Regions from separate parts of the Homo sapiens genome. Here regions 1 and 2 are each linked to region 3. The links are contacts of gene promoters, found by promoter capture Hi-C in human tissues and cell types (Jung and others, 2019). All regions are on one chromosome and are shown on one strand. Each heading gives the region's core, a stretch centred on a gene start or on the middle of the fragment in contact. The rest is flanking DNA. Distances are from core to core; before and after follow the strand shown.

The links. The method cuts DNA at HindIII sites, captures the fragments that hold promoters and counts their contacts. A contact is called where the count stands out against the background at its distance.
Region 1: a contact is called between a fragment that was not itself captured here and the fragment with the promoter of ENPP1 in region 3, in 1 of the 25 tissues and cell types used here (IMR-90 fibroblasts).
Region 2: a fragment that was not itself captured here is called in contact with the fragment with the promoter of ENPP1 in region 3 in 4 of the 25 tissues and cell types used here (IMR-90 fibroblasts, mesendoderm cells, neural progenitor cells and 1 more).

The regions. Positions count from the first base shown.
Region 1 is chr6:131,867,100-131,869,799 of GRCh38, forward strand. It overlaps ENPP1 (ectonucleotide pyrophosphatase/phosphodiesterase 1), which reads left to right. Exons shown (of 25, transcript NM_006208.3): 12 at 919-1,027; 13 at 2,259-2,390. Among named protein-coding and RNA genes, the nearest start is that of CCN2-AS1, 34 kb to the right of the region's middle. The HindIII fragment of the contact is 5,038 bases long and covers 1-2,700 here.
Region 2 is chr6:131,848,668-131,851,367 of GRCh38, forward strand. ENPP1 (ectonucleotide pyrophosphatase/phosphodiesterase 1) reads left to right here. Exons shown (of 25, transcript NM_006208.3): 3 at 1,323-1,439; 4 at 2,475-2,600. Among named protein-coding and RNA genes, the nearest start is that of ENPP1, 42 kb to the left of the region's middle. The HindIII fragment of the contact is 8,629 bases long and covers 1-2,700 here.
Region 3 is chr6:131,806,673-131,809,372 of GRCh38, forward strand. ENPP1 (ectonucleotide pyrophosphatase/phosphodiesterase 1) reads left to right here and starts at 1,348. Exons shown (of 25, transcript NM_006208.3): 1 at 1,348-1,603. The coding sequence starts at 1,364. The HindIII fragment of the contact is 10,154 bases long and covers 1-2,700 here.

The sequences.
Region 1 (2,700 bases), core at 178-2,677, 61 kb after region 3:
CTGTGAACTCCAACATTACTGGCACACCAAAACCCACTTTATCTTAATACTTAAAAATTCCAGTTCATGTTGCTTGGATAACTTTGAATGAAAGACGTTGTCTTGTTTCATGTTACAGTGAAAGAGCTTATCTCATATTATAGTGAAATAATACTGACAATGAATGAAGATTAAGCTGATTCCACACATTACAGAAAATACACAAAACTGCACAAAAATTTTTCTCAAATGGTTTTGCAAGGAGAGAGGATAAAATAAGTGCCAGAAAGCAGTTTGCCAATATCATTTGTCATTCTGTGTTCTTGTGATATTCATATGTAAAATACATGCAGTTTGTAAGGAAATAATGGGTTATATTCCTATGAGTTCTAATTTAGAAAATTAAATACATTGAATTATAAGAAGCATTTCATGAATAATTTGAACATTTTTGAAAATTAGGAAACATATTTATACAGTGACCATTTGAATGATCAGAAAGTATAAGAAGAAATGAATTGTGGAAAATGAAGTGGTAATTAAGAACATATTGGTTTCTGGCCAAACACTGTAGATTTGAGCTATTATTATTTTGGCTTAAGTTGGGTCTAATCTAAGTAGTAGCATTCTGACCTCAGGAATAGATCAGCTAATCTCATTCCCAAAACTTAAAATTGAACGTGTATAGAATTAGGACTCTTGCATTGTTAATGATCTGCAGTTATTTACTGTTCTTTGTATCTCTGACCCTGACCTGTCTTAGTCTAATGTGAATCAGCTCATTGTAGTTGCATCCACTGGCCCTTATCTATCTATCTGTCTGTCTTTCTTTCTTTCTTTGTTTCTTTCTTTTTTTTTTTTTTTAACAGAGATAGCTTTATGTATAAATAGCCATTAGTGTGGAAGGTATCACATGAGGTTGTTGCTTCCCATTCTTAGGTCATCAAAGCCTTGCAGAGGGTTGATGGTATGGTTGGTATGCTGATGGATGGTCTGAAAGAGCTGAACTTGCACAGATGCCTGAACCTCATCCTTATTTCAGATCATGGTAATCTGAATTTGCATTATTTACTCTTCAGGATAAAGGGCTGAAGAAAGTTTACTTGATGGTTTCCCAATTTTTTCTGAATGTTGTAGTTAATTCTTTTTTAAAAATGTAGTTTCTTATGGACAGTCTTTAGGAAAAAAATACATTAAATATAAAATATAAGTGAAACACAGAATTCACAGAAACCTAAGTGCCTATCAAGCACAATACACCAAGAATTTGAATAGCTAAAAAATATATATTTTCAACATTAAATTTGTGTAACTCTACAATTTTAGATTTAGTTGGAACTGATTATTATAGCTTCAATTTCCTTTTTTTGTTGTTGTTTTTGAGACAGTCTCATTCTGTTAGCCAGGCTGGAGTGCAGTAGCATGATCACAGCTCACTGCAGCCTCAACTTCCTGGGCTCAAGTGATTCTCCTACCTCAGCCTCCTGAGTAGCTGGAACTACTGGCATGTGCCACCACACCTGGCTAATTAAAAAAAATTTTTTTTGGTAGACATGGGATCTTGCTATGTTGAGCAGGCTGGTCTCAAACTCTTGCTCTCAAGCTCCCACTGCTGCCTTCCAAAGTAGTGGGATTACAGGCATTAGCCATCGTGCCCAGCCTTCAATTTTCTTTAGCTTGATAAATCTGACTTTAGAAGCATGATATATTAATTTTGATAATATTTTCACTTTTACTTACTGTGATCTTTGTAACACGCTTGTGTACAGTTTGGGGACTATAGGAGCAGCGTGCCTATGGAAAATAGAAAATAGGTTCTTTTTGTTTTTGTTCTTGTTTTTTGCTTCAGAAATAATTATAGAAATCTGTGTTTAGAAGCAGTCCTAAGAAGTTACATGCAAAGAAGTACCAGTCTTGGAATGAGAGTGAATCATACACATACACTCCCAGTTAATATCCTAGGTGGTTTGGGGCAAATAACTGGGCTTTCACATTCGGTCTAAAAATGTGATAAGACATTCTTCTTTGCTCACATAATGATATTGTAATATATAAATAAGAAGAAACATTAACCAAAATTTGGGTGACGGAAAAGATTTTGAAAAAAGTGAAGTGATAGGTACAGCTGAAATTCTGTCTTACCTATCAGATCTTCAACTAATATGAGTGCTACACCCATGTTTAACGAATTTAACCTTGGAAGTGAAAGAAGTTCTGCTCTGCATATTAAATTTTTTGTTAAAGTTACAGCATGTTTTGGGATTTTTTTTTTCTCCTAGGCATGGAACAAGGCAGTTGTAAGAAATACATATATCTGAATAAATATTTGGGGGATGTTAAAAATATTAAAGTTATCTATGGACCTGCAGCTCGATTGAGACCCTCTGATGTCCCAGATAAATACTATTCATGTAAGTATATCTCTGTGATAACTTTGAATATGGTCATATTAAGAATACCTTCCTTTAGGCCGGGCACAGTGGCTCATGCCTGTAATCGCAGCACTTTGGGAGGCCAAAGTGGGTGGATCACCTGAGGTCAGGAGTTCGAGACCAGCCTGGCCAACATGGTGAAACCCTAAAAATACATATACGATACTATACTATATCTATACTAAAAATACAAAAATTAGCCTGGCTTGGTGGCAGCTGCCTGTAATCCCAGCTGCTCTGGAGGCTGAGGTACAAGAATCGCTTGAACCCAGGAGGCGGAGGTTACAGT
Region 2 (2,700 bases), core at 84-2,583, 42 kb after region 3:
TTAGCATGAAGTGATTCACTCCTGAGTTGACACATACAAATTAAAAATGAAAAATAACAATTTTAATCCAAGCCCAACATAGTATGCATCATATTTTTAAAAATTATTAGGTGCATATTAATGAGCTCCAAGTAATAGCTATTATTCCAATAGACTTCCCTGACCCCCACTCCAGGTCAGGAAAGTTCGTATTTCTGACACTAGAAATTATTATTGTTACTTCATCTTCTTAAAATTGCCTGATTTCCCAGTGTCAAATGAGAGGTAAATTCCATGGCAGTGTCTTTTTGGGTCAGAACACCATTAAAGTCAAGAACTAAGATTATTTCTTTTTTGTTGTTGTTGGATGTCCCTTATTTTCCATGTGTTCCTTTTTTTCTTTTTTTCTCATTGTCCTAATTTTCTAGCTCTCCAGTGAAACCTGGCTTATTCAAGGTATCTAGTAATGAACTTCAACAGTAAAAAACTGTCATGAAAAGTACTTTCCTCCCATGTCTACCATTTATTCATTTAGCAAAAATGTGCTAATCTCAACTATATGGCATGCACCTGGCTGGGTTTTAGGGAGACAGTATGCTGGGCAAAGCCAGATGTGGTCTTGGTTTGCCGTCTAACTGGGATATTAACCAAATAACCTAGTTACGTGTGGAATTAAGTAATTGAGGGGAAGGACAAGGTTTTATATGAGCTTAAAAAAATGGAAATCAGGCCTAGCTGGGGAGTTAGGAAAGCTTTTTAGAGGGAGCCAGTCTGGATCTAAAGGTGAAATGGGTGTTTCAGGTCAGGGAGGGAAGAGCTATGCCAGGGAGCATGTTCTGAACAAACCCACTACTTCTTTACACCAGGATTGAGAGTGAGGCAGGCTAGGTAATCTTTTCCTTTCTAAAATATTCTTAACCACTTCTAAAAAAAATTTTTCCCACATTTTGAAATTTTAGGGAACCCCATGCCTGCTTAAGCCAACTTTTTCATAGCACAAAGTATTCAGAACAAGCCTTTATTCTGACTTTTATTTTATCACACCATGGTTATTTAAGTCTTATCAGACCCAGTAACGTTTGTAATAATAATCATTAAAAAGTTATCTTTCTTTCCTACATCAGGAGATAAAAATCACAAACCAGGCACATAAGGTTACTTTCTGTTTGTATCACTTTTTGTGTGTATTTGTGAAAAGATTTTTGCCTTACTTTATTACCCCATCTGTATTTTCTAAAGTAGTATTTGAACCTAGTGTACACCTAACTTAGTTGTATTCGTTGATGTTTACTTTGAATTATATAATGATTAGAAACATCTGACTTATCGTTCAATTTTTTCAGTTAAAAGTTGCAAAGGTCGCTGTTTCGAGAGAACATTTGGGAACTGTCGCTGTGATGCTGCCTGTGTTGAGCTTGGAAACTGCTGTTTAGATTACCAGGAGACGTGCATAGAACCAGGTAAGGATGAGCAGGGAAAAAAGTGGAGTTATGGTCATTAGGAAAAGATCAAGGAAAGTTCTGTGTCTTTCAGGTATGTGATTTACCTAATTCATTTGAATTTTTTTTAGTTTAGCATACATACACGTTTTGACATTAGCTTTTATATTTTCTTTCAACAGTTCCTTAAGAGAAAAAAATTTACAGAATTTCTCTGTTAAACATTTTATGGATAGCAGAACTTTGTCTATTTTTAATGTATGCTGAAAGCCTTTGTAATCTAATTTGCATTCAAATTCTAAAAGCCTGCTTGAAATATAGAAATATTTTCATTATGGTTCTTTGACGGCAAGAGATCTTATATGTCCACCTATATTTTTCAAAATAAAACTATCAGAATATGAAAATTTTCTTAGTTAGATTTGGAATTCTCTGCATATGACATGGAATAATTTTTAAATGAGAGAGATTTATTTATTTTTCATTAGTATTTATTTTTTAAAGACAGGGACTTGTTCTGTCACCCAGGCTGGAGAGCCGTTGCTCGACCATGGCTCGTTGCAACCTTGAACTCCTGGGCTCAAGAGATCCTCCTGCCTCAGCCTCCCAAGTAGCTGGAACTACAGGCTCACACCATTATGCCCAGCTAATTTTTAAAATGTTTGTAGAGATGAGGTCTCACTACATTGCCCAGGTTGATCCCAAACTCCTGGCCTCAAGCAATCCTCTCACCTTGACCTGAGAGTCAGACTTAGATTAAATTTTAGCAGGTAGAAGAAGCCAGGTCTACATATGAATTGCATATGGTAAGGTGCATCTAAATTTGAAAATGACAAAATTCTGGACTTTTAGTGAAATAATAATAATTGGTTCCTACATATTTTACCCCATTAGTTCAGAGTGGCCATGGTAGTGGCAGATTCTGTGAGTGACTAAGAGCTGTGAAATTGTTCATTGTTGCTCATGGATCATACTCAGGAAGACAGCAATTCTGTGTTCACTTTGGACATGTTGAATTTGAGACATAAAACACATTTTGCTGATGTTTGTTTCTAGAACATATATGGACTTGCAACAAATTCAGGTGTGGTGAGAAAAGGTTGACCAGAAGCCTCTGTGCCTGTTCAGATGACTGCAAGGACAAGGGCGACTGCTGCATCAACTACAGTTCTGTGTGTCAAGGTCAGGTGCTCGTTGGGCTCTGCAGCAGCCTGGTATCTTCCAGCGTCTTAGCGGGGCTTTACATAGGTGTTATCTTTTATATTAGGAGTCATGGCTATTG
Region 3 (2,700 bases), core at 98-2,597:
ATCAATATCCTATGTGTGACTCTATTCTGCATATATGACTTAGGTTTTAATTATTTTGTTTACGAGTTGGTCCTACCCCCCCACCCCCGCTTCCACCACACTTAAGGAAAGATACATTTTAATTCATTTTTTATATGGTATGCATAGTTGGAGGCCAAAAGATTGAGTTGAAGGATTCATTACTTGATGAATAAATGGATGGGTGGATGGATGAGTCAGTATAAATGAAGAGCATCCCAAGTTGACTATTTTAAAGGGATAACATGCATTTTATATTTGTTAAACATTCATTCTCATTTGTAAACACTTGTATATATTCATGTATTCAAAATGTATTGAAAATTAATTGTTTTCCTTGGTACCTGAAGTCAGTCCTGGGTATTGCAAAGTAGTTCGAAGTCACTGGTTTCCCTCTGTCTCACTTCACTACACACTGGTGATTTTGCTAAGTGATGAGCCAGAAAATGTACAAGTTCCAGAATCAAAGGTAAAACAAAACCCACCAAGAATCAGCTCACTGTTAGCGTCCTAGTTGAAAAATAAGGCTTATCAAAGTATTTCAGATTGCATTAACACTTTTGATATAGCTAGGTATCAGTGTCAACCTCAGGAGAGGGCAACGCCAACTCCTGAAACCTTCAATACAGAAAGTCTAGAAAAATAAGCAAATATACATACAAACAATAGCGAGAAGACTCCAGAAACCACATAAAACCGTGGGAATCGAAATATCCCTTACGTGTGTTCAGTACATGTGAACCCACGTATTTTAAGTGGACGATTTCTCTCTCAGAGTACCGTAGGTAGTGGGGGACGGGGCGCAGAGGGGGAGAAACAGAAAGTCGCCTTCCTCCATGGTTCATTTGCATTTCCATCCAGAAACTCACAGGTCGACCCCAAGACTCCACTCTCTCCCGCCTTTGAGAAGCCGGACCGGCATCGGCGGCTGCATCCTTCTCCTCCTCCCCGCTCTATTTTGGGGCCCCATGATCTCATGCCCTCTGCAGACCACACGCTGCAATTCCAGCCCAGCCCGCGCCGCGAGGCCACGCAGGGCGATTCCTGCAAGTGTCGGGAGGGTGGCCGGGGCGCGGGGAGGGGACGGCTTGGGGGGAAGTTTAAGACACGCCCACGTAAGGGACCCAAAATAACCGACACACAGAGTGCCCGAAATCAGACAGGAAGCCAAATAATCCGGGGCGTTGAGTCGCTTTGCCCTGACTGCGAGAGCCGGGTGTAGGGCGGGGAGCCAAGGATCTGACCGCGAGGGGCGGGCGCGGCGGGGAGGGGCGGGGCGGGGCGGGCGGCGCGGGGCCTATTAAAGGCGCGGCCGGGCAGCGGGGCCGGAGCGGCCGGGGCCACGATGGAGCGCGACGGCTGCGCGGGGGGCGGGAGCCGCGGCGGCGAGGGCGGGCGCGCTCCCCGGGAGGGCCCGGCGGGGAACGGCCGCGATCGGGGCCGCAGCCACGCTGCCGAGGCGCCCGGGGACCCGCAGGCGGCCGCGTCCTTGCTGGCCCCTATGGACGTGGGGGAGGAGCCGCTGGAGAAGGCGGCGCGCGCCCGCACTGCCAAGGACCCCAACACCTATAAAGTACTCTCGCTGGTAGGTCCGCGGCCAGGCCCCGGCGCCCGGGAGGGCTGGGAGTACGGGGAGGGCGGCGCCGAGCTCCTGCGCTCTCAGCGCAGTCAGCACCGGGCACCGGAGAGAGGCATGGTCCGGGAGTGCTTCTTCGCCCGCGCGCTCTCCTCCGCAGCCTTTGCAAGTGCCCTACACAGCCGCCCCTGCCAGGTACCTTGCCAGGGCAGGATGGTTCACTCTCACTTGAATTATGGATGCCTGTGAAAGCAGGCTGTTCAAAACGGTCATCCTTAGAAATACTCGACCCCCTGCCCCAGGAGAGTACGGGTTTTTAGAGGAGAAAAATGTCAAACGCGAAAGTTGTTGGTCTTAAGAAGGTGCATCAATGTGTTGCTTCTTTTAGGGGGCTCTGGGCGCAGTATACATGACTTCACTTGGGTTAACTGATTGCAGTTGAAGAGTTAGCGGAGCTCTTTAAGTTTTATTAGGAACTCTACGGAACACTTTTTCCCTTTCGCTCCGTTTTGGAATTTCCTTGCAGGTGCTCAGAAATTCCATGGATGTTCACATTATGTGACTGAAGAAACCTTTATGATTCTTTGCCCACTCTTCTAACCAGAGGCTACACGGTTTGTGTTGCTAACAAAAGCTACCTATTACTCCTCTGCTATTTTGCTATGACATTTGCAGGACCCACAGTCAACTTCATGAAATGTGGGGGTTGGTTTTTATTCTGAATTCATGGTGGGAAGTGCTGATTGAGAGAAGGCCTGGATTCCTGGCTGTTATTATTTGCTGAGGCCTTGCGTAACTGTCCCTAAACCTCAATTTCTAATGTGTGAAAATGGGACAACATCAACTCCCTTGTGCATTGCATGGGATTATTGTGAAAATCAAGCTGAAGAATGTAGGTAGGGAAGTAAATTGAAAACAGCAAGGAAATAGAATCATTTTTATTGTATTATATGGAAATCACAGATTTCTATGTATAGTGTACCCTAAAATATATCCCCTTACATATGATTGAATAATGCTTTGTAGAAAAATTTCTAATTTTTCAAGTCTCCTTTCATTTTGTATGCATTTCCATTTTCACTATATTTGGGACATCATGGAGATGC